Linked DNA regions of Homo sapiens: regions 1 and 2 are each linked to region 3. The links are contacts of gene promoters, found by promoter capture Hi-C in human tissues and cell types (Jung and others, 2019). All regions are on one chromosome and are shown on one strand. Each heading gives the region's core, a stretch centred on a gene start or on the middle of the fragment in contact. The rest is flanking DNA. Distances are from core to core; before and after follow the strand shown. Region 1 holds the start of OR1I1 (olfactory receptor family 1 subfamily I member 1). Region 2 holds the start of CASP14 (caspase 14). Region 3 has its middle 3.7 kb from the start of CYP4F8.

Evidence for each region. The method cuts DNA at HindIII sites, captures the fragments that hold promoters and counts their contacts. A contact is called where the count stands out against the background at its distance.
Region 1: the fragment with the promoter of OR1I1 here is called in contact with a fragment that was not itself captured in region 3 in 7 of the 25 tissues and cell types used here (aorta, dorsolateral prefrontal cortex, heart left ventricle and 4 more).
Region 2: the fragment with the promoter of CASP14 here is called in contact with a fragment that was not itself captured in region 3 in 4 of the 25 tissues and cell types used here (bladder, dorsolateral prefrontal cortex, lymphoblastoid cells and 1 more).

What each region holds. Positions count from the first base shown.
Region 1 is chr19:15,080,441-15,083,877 of GRCh38, forward strand. OR1I1 (olfactory receptor family 1 subfamily I member 1) reads left to right here and starts at 1,771. Exons shown (of 2, transcript NM_001004713.2): 1 at 1,771-1,836. The HindIII fragment of the contact is 16,029 bases long and covers 1-3,437 here.
Region 2 is chr19:15,047,441-15,050,971 of GRCh38, forward strand. It overlaps CASP14 (caspase 14), which reads left to right and starts at 2,040. Exons shown (of 7, transcript NM_012114.3): 1 at 2,040-2,205. The HindIII fragment of the contact is 29,360 bases long and covers 1-3,531 here.
Region 3 is chr19:15,609,933-15,613,182 of GRCh38, forward strand. It overlaps the pseudogene RPL23AP2. Among named protein-coding and RNA genes, the nearest start is that of CYP4F8, 3.7 kb to the right of the region's middle. The HindIII fragment of the contact is 7,491 bases long and covers 1-3,250 here.

The DNA.
Region 1 (3,437 bases), core at 521-3,020, 530 kb before region 3:
CTTTTAGTAGAGACTGGGTTTCACCATTTTTCCCAGGCTGGTCTCGAACTCCCGACCTCAAGTGATCCACCCGCCTCAGCCTCCCAAAGTGCTGGGATTACAGGTGTGAGCCACCATGTCTGGCCACCTTATGGACTTTTTAGGTGGGTTTTTCCCCAACCTTTGGGCTCAAATTGATTTTTTTTTTTTTTTTGAGACAAGGTCTCACTCTGTCACCCAGGCTGGAGTGCAGTGGCATGATCTCAACTTGCTGCAAACTTCACCTCCCGGGCTCAAGGGATCCTCCCACCTCAGCCTCCTGAGTAGTTGGGACTATAGGCACGTCCAGCTAATTTTGTATTTTTAGTAGAGACAGGGTTTCACCATGTTGGCCGGGCTGGTCTCAAACTCCTGAGCTAAATTGATCCACCTGCCTCGGCCTCCCAAAGTGCTAGGATTACAGGTGTGAACCACCATGCCCAGCCTCTGAAAATAATTTTAATTTTAAAAAAATAATGACAGTGGGATTGGCACCTACTCATATCCCCATATGTCCAACGCGAAGTTGGTCTACCTTGTTCTTGCTTTGAAGCTGACCTCCCCACAGAGTTACGATCCAAGAGCCAACAGTCCAACAGCCAATATTATTAGGGAAAGTAATTCTAATATTTACTAAAGCCCCTAGGAGAATTTCAACAAGTATCCTACACACGTTCTGTGTGGCTGATAGGAAGGATTTTTTTTTTAAGAGACAGGGTCTCACTCCGTTGTCCAGGTTGGAATGCAGTGGTGCGATCACAGCTCACTGCAGCCTCAACCTCCAGGGCTCAAGTGATCCTCCCACCTCAGCCTCCTGGGTAACTGAGACCACGGGCATGTGCCACCAATCCTGGCTAATTTTTTTAAATTTTTTGTAGATATAAGGTCTTGCTGTTTTGCCCAAGCTGGTCTCAAACTTCTAGGCTCAAGGGATTCTCCAACCTTGGCCTCCCAAGTAGCTAGGATTATAGGCATGAGCCACCGTGTCCAACTCCAGTGCCAAGCAGGTGATCAAGAAGTGTTTGATAGGCCGGGTACAGTGGCTCAGGCCTGTAATCCCAGCACTTTGGGAGACCGAGGAGAGCAGATCACTTGAGGTTTGAGATCAGTCTTTCCAACATGGTGAAACCCTGTCTCTACTAAAAATACAAAGACTAGCTGGGCATGGTGGTGGGCACCAGTAATTCCAGCTACTCAAGAGGCTGAGGAGGGAGAATTGCTAGAACCCAGGAGGTGGAGGTTGCAGTGAGCCGAGATTGCTCCACTGTGCTCCAGGCTGGGTGAAAGAGTGACACTCCATCTCAAAAAAAAGTGTTTGATAAATTTATTTATTTAATACCGATTTATTGATTGATTGATACTCTTCGGAGCTTTCCTTAATGAGCCAGTTTCTTCCATAATGCAATGAATGAAAGGACCTCTCAGATTCAGGCATCTGAGTGCCCGACTGGAGTCTGGGACCCCCCAGACCTCTCTGCCTGGGAGCTTCCATGAAGCTCAGCCTGAGCTGGAAGGAGACCGTAGGGAGATGTCCTAGTGAGAGTGAATCCCTAGTCACTGTTTCCTCTTCTTACCCACTCGATGATCCCAAAGCACACCCATCTCCAAAAGAACAGGTCACATGTGGCAGAGGAGAAACAAAATAATTAGCATCCGCTTCCTTAACAAGGAGCTATGGGGACGAAGTCTCCTAGAGTCCCCAGACTATAAATACCCTGATGTTCCCCTGGCTCCCCCACTCACCTGCAGAGTCTGGGGGCGGGGGGGTACACATATGAATCCTTCCCATAGACATCAGGCTAACCCCAGCGATCACAGGTGAGTAGCCCCCATGCCCTTCCTAGGGGTTTAGTGCTGACCTCGGGATCCTCTAGCAGTTGGTGGAGAAGGAGGCTTCCCGGGACCCTCCCCTTGGTGATGCCATCCTGGTGAGCAGGTGAGGGATGGGGAAAGGATTGAGCTGAGGGTGGGGGTGGAGGGTTGTGGGAGAGGAATCTGTCTCCTTCCTAGAGGCCGAGAGAGAGAGAAGAGACTGAGACCAAGTCTAGACTCTCTGAGTGGACAAAGCACGCAGACGGCAGACCCTCTGTGGCAGGATATGTGGAGGAAAAGCACTGAGGGTCTGCAGCTGCAGGACACCTGCACAGATAGGAGAGGTCTTGAGAAACAAGTTTCTCCAATGCAGCAGCTCCCCAAGTGTGGTCCCTGGGCTAGAAGCACCAGCATCCTCTGGAAACTATCTAGAAGTGCTGGTTCTTACACCAGACATTTCAGGGAAAGGGCTTAGCTTTTTGTGTATGATGAGTTTGGGAGCGGGGGGGAGGGGGCGGGGGGATTGTTTTGTTTGTTTGTTTGTTCTTTCTGTTTTTGAGACAGGGTCTCGCTCTGTTGCCCAGTCTGGAGTGCAGTGGCATTATCATAGCTCATCGCAGCCTCGACCTCCCAAGCTCAAGTGATCCTCCCTCCTCAGCCTCCCGGGTACCTGGGATAACAGACATATACCACCATGCCTGGCTAATTTTATTTTCGTAGAGGCAGGGATCTTCCTATGTTGCCCAGGATGGTCTCACACTCCCGGGCTCAAGAGATCCTCCTACCTTGGCCCCCCAAGCAGCTGGGACTAACAGGTGTGTGCCACCATGTCCAGCTAATTTTTTATTTTGTAGAGATGGGGGTCTCACTGTGTTGCCCAGGTTGGTCTCTAACTCCTGGACTCAAGGGATTCTCCCACCTCAGCCTTCTGAGTAGCTGGGACTATGGAAGCATGCCACCATGCCCAGCAGATTGTTTTATTTTTTGTAGATCCAGGGCGGGATTGGGGGTGGGGTGGCCTCACTTTGTCTGCCAGGCTGGTCTTGAACTCCTGGCCTCAAGCAATTCTCCCACTTCAGCCTCCCAAAGTGCTGGGATTACAGGTGTGAGCCACCATGCCTGGCCCGCTTTTTGTGTTTTAACAAGCCTTCCAGGTGACCCTGAAGCGTGCTCAAGGTTGAGAACCGCTGCTCTATGCAACCCAAGTCAACAACTGAGGACTGTTACAAATATGTTGCCAGGAAGGGAATCGCAGTATTCTATCCAGCCTAGAGAAAACCAAGCATTGCATTGCAAAAACCTCAAGTCCAACACTAAAAAGCCTCAAAAAGTTAACATAGGGCTTTGCTGAAGGCCTCTTGGGGTTACCAAGGAGATTATGCTGCTAACCTTCCTAAAAACCCCTTTCATCGGCTGGGCGCTGAAATGATGAGATTACTGGGCTCACGCCTGTAATCTCAGTACTTTGGGAGGCCAAGGTGGGCGGATCACCGGGTCAGGAGTTCAAGACCAGCCTGGCCAACAGGCTTAGTAGAGGCGAAACCCCGTCTCTACTAAAAATACAAAAATTAATCGGGCGTGGTGATGCACACCTGTAATCCCAGCTA
Region 2 (3,531 bases), core at 790-3,289, 560 kb before region 3:
ACTCGGCTAGTGGTTGCCTAAGGCTGGGATGTATGGAGAGATTGGGAGTGATAGCTAAAGGGTACTGGGATTCTTTTGGGGGGTGATAAAAATGTTCTAAAATGAGCCAGGTGTGGTGGCCCGCGCCTGTAATCTCACACTTTGGGAGGCCGAGTGGGGAGGATCCCTTGAGGCCAGAAGTTCGAGACCAGCCTGGGCAACACAGCAAGACTTTGTCTCTACAAAAAATCTTGAGGAAAAAAGTAGCAAGGCATGTACGTGCACACCTGTAGTCCCAGCTGCCCAGGAGGCTGAGGTGGAAGGATCGAATAAGCCCAGGAGTTTTAAGCTGCAGTGAGCTGTGATCGCTCCACTGCACTCCAGCCTGGGTGACAGATCTTATCTCCGAAAAAAGAAAAAACAAAATGTTCCAAAATGAACTGACGCAATGGTTGCATCACTGTGAATATATTGAAACCCACTGGATTGCACACTTCAGGTGGGTGAATTGTATAATACGTAAATTATATCTCATTTAAGCTGTTGCTATCGAACCGAGTTTGTTCTTCCTCTGTGCAGCAAGCCAATCAATGTAATGACAGATTTTGCAGAAGAGGAAGAGTTCGTTCATGAGGCAATTAAGCGACGAGGTGGTAAAACAGGTCTCAAATTCTCCTCCCCAAAAATAGGGTTTGAGGGTGCTTATGGGATAGAAAACGGGGTGATCTAAAGTACGGAGAAAGGTGACTGGCAGGTAGGGAAGGTGAGGTAATCAGAATTTCTGAGCAAGCATGGTTGAGCTACATGGCTTTAGATAGGACATTTGTGCAAAAAATAGCATTTAGCATGATCTGAAGGTGGAGTTTACGGCCCTCTGATATCAGCTACCCACATAGGTGCAGTTGAAGGGTCAGTGATCTCCACTGGCTTAAACTAAACAAGAGCTGCCTCCTACCTAGTTCCTGAAAAACAACTTTAAGCACCCATTACTATAGTGTCCCACAGACAAAAATGTTATCTGTAAGGAAGCCAGTGGGAGTTTAGTTATGCATTATTTGGCTACGTGACTTGCTAGTGGCGCTTTTAAGATCAACTATAAGTAAGCAATTAAAAGTAAGTAAGCAATTAAACGCAAGGCAGATTAAGTCTGGAGGGCTTAATCAGGTTCGCCTTTGGTTTCACTATTAACATAAGAAATAAAATGAAACAAAATGGCTGAAAAATAATAAGAGGAGGAGGAAGAGAGGAATCATCATGATGCATCAGTTAAGGCAACTGGGCTGGAACATTTTAGGGGTTGTTTGTTTGTTTTTATATTTAAGACAGAGTCTTGCTCTGTCACCCAGGCTGGAGTGCAGAGGCACAATCTTAGCTCGCTGCAGCCTCAAACTCCTAGGCTCAAGCCAGCCTCCTACCTCAGCCTCCTGAGTAGCTAGGACTATAGGTATATGCCATCATTTTTATTATTATTATTATTTTAGTGACAGGGTCTCACTATGCCCCGGCTGGTCTCAAACTCCTCACCTCAAGCGATCCTCCTGCCTTGGCCTCCCAAAGCGCTGGGACTACAGACGTGACCCACCACACCTCACCCCTTATAGGGTTGAATGCCAACTGTGCCAATTGCTGACCTTGGGCAGTCATTTCACCTCTATGAGCCTCAGTTTCTCCATCTGCAAAATGGGAGCAAAAATACTGATCTGTCTAGACTCTTGAAGACTCGATGAGATAATAACTAAGTGAAGTCGGTGTTATCTACACAGTGGAAGGTGAGATGAATAAACTAGGCATAATGATGATGGTAATAACCAGATGGGCTGGCTATGGGATGGGGGTTGGGAGAGGTTGTGGCTGGGCTGGCACAGACATCTGACTCATTTAGACTCTCTGCCTAGGCCACCTTTGCCAGAGGGAGTCCCCTCAGCCTTGCGATCACTCATCCCATTGGCGTTGGCTCCATTTCCACACCACAGCTGTGTGCCAAGGGTGTGTCATGAGGTTTCTTGAGTGACAGAAAACTCACCGACAATAAAGGGCCAGGTGATTGTGCCACCCGATTCATAGACCAGGCTTCTCAGGAGAAACCCCGGGAGATTCCACACTGTCAGCCCCTTCTCCAAGATCAGTACGTGGGCCTGACTCCTCCTCGGTGCCCAGCTCAGTATTGGCAACTAGGAGAGTAGTGAGATTGAACTTGGCCTTGAGGAACAGCTGCCTCTAGAGTTGGTAAGTGATTTGGTGGATATTAGCCTCTCTCTCTCTCTCTCTCTCTCTCTCTCACACACACACACACACACACACACACACACACACGCACATACACACATACGCTCCCTCTCCCTTCATGAATTAATGCTCTGGCCAGTTTTGGCAGAATGGAAGAAATTTCCATCCATCCCCTCTTTCTTTTCATCTGTTCATTTTTTTCTTATTTGTTTACTCAGCAAATTCTCTCCAACACCACCTCTGTGCTCCCTGCCACACTGTTGGCCATGATGGAGACAGAGATAATGAAGTCAGGCTTTCAGTCCTGAAAACTGAGCTGCCAGTTCAGCCATGAGAGTAAGAATCAAAAACACTGCTGTAATTCAAGTAGGAGCAAGCAGAGCTGTGAGAGTCCAGAGAAGGAAGAGGAAAGTTCCAGGAGGTCAAGAGGGATCCTAAAACCTACCTGGGTCACCATTGCTGTTAAGCACCTAGAGCTCTCCCCAGGTCCTTTGCGGATGGGAAAATCGAGTCTCAGAGAGGAGAGTGAGATGCCGAAGGTCACACAGCTGGGAAGGGACTGAGGCAGGATTCGGTTCTGGCTCCAGGGCTATGCTCCTTCCACTTCCTCCCTCACAATCTTTGGCTCCTCTTTCGTCACAGCACTTGCTGTGTGTGTGTGTGAGTGTGTGTGTGTGAGAGAGAGAGAGAGAGAGAGAGATTTAATATTCATTTCTGTCACAGACTAGAGCTACAGAAGGACAGAAAGTCAGGGAGCATGTCTGTCTTACTTAATGGATTCTAAGTGCATAACACATAATAGATACCCAGAAAATATTTGCTGGGTAGGTGGGTGGGTGGGTGGATGGATTGATGGATGGATGGATGGATGGGTGGGTGGGTAGATGGATAAGTAAATAGGTGGATGGATAGATGGAAGATAGAGATGATGGATGAAGGAATGGATAGAAGGAGGGCTAGATGGAGGGATAGTTGGAAGATAGAATAGATGGAGGGATGGAAGACAGAGAGAGATAATGGATGAATGGATGGATGGATGGATGAATGAATGAGTGGTTGGATGAATAAGTGGATGGATAGATAGATGGATGGGTAGATAAATGGGTTGATGGAAGAATGAATGGGTATATGGGATGACTGATTAATAGATGGGTAGACAGACGGATGAATAGATGTGTGAGTGGGTGGATGGATGGATGGATGAGTGGATAGATAGGTAAGTGGAAAGATAAATTGGTGGATGGGTTGATGAATAAAAGGATGGATGTTAAATTGGATTGATGGATGACTAGATAGATGTGCGGGTGGAAGGATGGGTGGATGGGA
Region 3 (3,250 bases), core at 111-2,610:
CACGATGGATTCCGTGCATGAAGGTTGAAACCTGCTCAGGAAGGTCCAGGGTGACCAGGGAGGCCACTCTGAAACACTGATGACTACATCATTTTGTGGAGTGAAATTAAAGCTGCCGAGGCAGAAATACTTTGATAAGGGTTTATTTGAAGCCAAAGGTGAGGATCAACCCAGAAAGATGCACCAACACATTTGGATGTGTGCCAGAATCTTTTACAATTTGGAATGTTTTTATAAGAAAGTTTAGGAGAAGAGAAGGGAACTTCTTATATCAGAATTGTCTGTTTTTATTGGAGGGTATAATACAGAGGTCATAATGATTAGATACAGGTTATAACATACAGGCTAAAACATTTTGTATGTAAAACCATCAGTGAAACTTTATAAGAGAGGGCACAGTGGCTTATGCCTGTAATCCCAGCACTTTGGGAGGTTGAGACGGGCAGATCCCTTGAGGAGAAGCTCATCGCTCCTGAGGCCAGTAGTTCGAGACCAGCCTAGCCAATATGGTGAAACTCTGCTCTACTAAAAATACAAAAATTAGCTGGGCATGGTGGCACATGCCTGCAATCCCAACAACTCGAGAGGCTGAGGCAGGAAGGTTGCTTGAACCTAGGAGATGGAGGTTGCAGTAAGATGAGACTGCGCCACTGCACTCCAGCCTGGGTGACAAAGACCCTGTCTCAAAAAAAAAAAGAAAAGAAAAGAAAAACTTTATGATTTATAAATATAAAGCAAAACTTCATGGTTTAGAAACAAAGGATTGTGCTTTTCCATATCAGTGGAAAATCAGAACATCAACAGTTGGAAGAACTCATAAGATCTGAGTAATTAAAGATAAGATTTGAGGAACTCACAAGATTCTTTACTCAGGAACAGGATGTAACCCATGCATCAAGAGATCTTTTCCGGGGGCTAATTGGGACTAATGTGACTGGTAGGTTATCAGCAGAGACCACGTCTGTCTTGTTCAACCTGTGTCCCAGGTCCTAGCACCATGCCTGCTACCATTTAAGTGTTCATGTGAAGTTTGTTGTTGAGAAACTAATTACCTAAAAGTTAGAACTTGACCTTTGCATTTTATCGAGGAGGCTATGAGACTCAGAGGGTTACACAGCTAGTGAGTGGCAGAGCCTGGACTTGAACTCAGTTGTGCTGAAGCCAGAATGTGTTCCTTCCTGAGCATTCAAGGACAGGGAAGGTGAAACTCCAGCTAGTGGGCAGCCCGTGTGCTTGTTCTAGGGAGACTGCAGGCCGATTCCTGGGAGCTGGGTCTTCATGGTGACACAGTAAGAACAACTCACCTATTGGCTGGGCGCAGTGGCTCACGCCTGTAATCCCAGCACTTTGGGAGGCCGAGGTGGTTGGATCACTTGAGGTCAGGAGTTGGAGACCAGCCTGGCCAATATGGTGAAACCCTGTCTCTACTAAAAATACAAAAATTAGCTGGGTGTGGTGGCTCATGCCTGTAATCTCAGCTGCTCGGGAGGCTGAGGTAGGATAATCGCTTGAACCTGGTGGGGCGGAGGTTTCAGTGAGCCGAGATTGGCACCATTGCCCTCCAGCCTGGGTGACAAAGTGAGACTCTGTCTCAAAAAACAAAGCAAAGCAAAACAAAACAAAACGAAACAGAACTACTCACCTATGTTGTGGATCAACTGTGTCCCCACTGTACCAAATCCTTATTTATTTAAAAAAATTTGTTTTGGACCCTTTTCACAAGATGGTGCCGAAAGTGAAGAAGGAAGCTCCTGCCCCTCCTAAAGCCGAAGCCAAAGCGAAGGCTTTAAAGGCCAAGAAGGCAGTGTTGAAAGGTGTCCACAGCCACAAAAAGAAGATCCACACGTCACCCACCTTCCGGCGGCCGAAGACACTGCGACTCCGGAGACAGCCCAAATATCCTCGGAAGAGCGCTCCCAGGAGAAACAAGCTTGACCACTATGCTATCATCAAGTTTCCGCTGACCACTGAGTCTGCCATGAAGAAGATAGAAGACAACAACACACTTGTGTTCATTGTGGATGTTAAAGCCAACAAGCACCAGATCAAACAGGCTGTGAAGAAGCTCTATGACATTGATGTGGCCAAGGTCAACACCCTGATTCGGCCTGATGGAGAGAAGAAGGTATATGTTCGACTGACTCCTGATTACGATGCTTTGGATGTTGCCAACAAAATTGGGATTATCTAAACTGAGTGCAGCTGCCTAATTCTGAATATATATATATATATCTTTTCACCATATACATGCCTCTCTGTCAATTTCTGGTTGGGCTGGGAGGCCACACACAGACACTGACATGACAGGGCTTGGGCAAGACTCCTGTTCTACTTATCCTTTTGAAATATTCACCCTGCCACTCCACCATGTGTGATCACTCCAGAGATCTTTGTGACTAGAGTTAGTGTCCTAGGAAAACCAGAACTCAGAACTTGCCTCCATGGTTGAGGGTAACAAGAAGCTGTACAAGAACCCCTTTTATCCCTGGAAGAGGCTGTGTATGAAACCAATGCCCAGGGTTTGAAGGGCGTTAGCATCCATTTCAGGGGAGTGTGGATTGGCTGGCTTTCTGGTAGCATTTTGTCCTCACACACCCATCTACTGTGTCCAACCGGTCTGTCTGCTTCCCTCACCCCTTGCCCAATAAAGGACAAGGACTTCAGAGGAAAAAAAAAATTGTTTTAATTATTACATTTATAGCATCCCAGCTTGAAAAACGAAGCAACAGAGACGTGTAGAAAGTTAAAAGGTTTCTACTCCAATTGTAATTTCTCCAATTCCATCGTGGTATGTGCATTCTTCTGGATTTTTTTCAGTGTGCATACACATGTGTACATACAGACACATACACATACACTCGTACGTTTTTTATATTGATGGGACCATTACTCACATCTTTAATTTGGAACTTATTCTCTGCTCTCTCTCCCTGTGTCTGATAGAATGCTGGCAATGCTTTGTGATGCTTTAGGAGACACATTTGTCAGATGTGAAGACTTAGGCTTAGGAATTGATGGGTGGTGACTGAGGCTGGTCACTCTGTGGTCTGGTGCACTTTCCCACTGCCCCACTCTGGGTAGGGGTGGAAGGGCCCCTGCAGAGAAGCACCAGCTTCTGTTTTCCCATGAGTGACTCCCCTCCCTCCAATACTCACTAGGGGACTTTCCATAAGCCAGGCTGTGTGATTTGGCCCCTGAGATATTCCTGGTTGGATGAGAAATCTTGGGGAGACTCCAGCCTTCTCAGGCA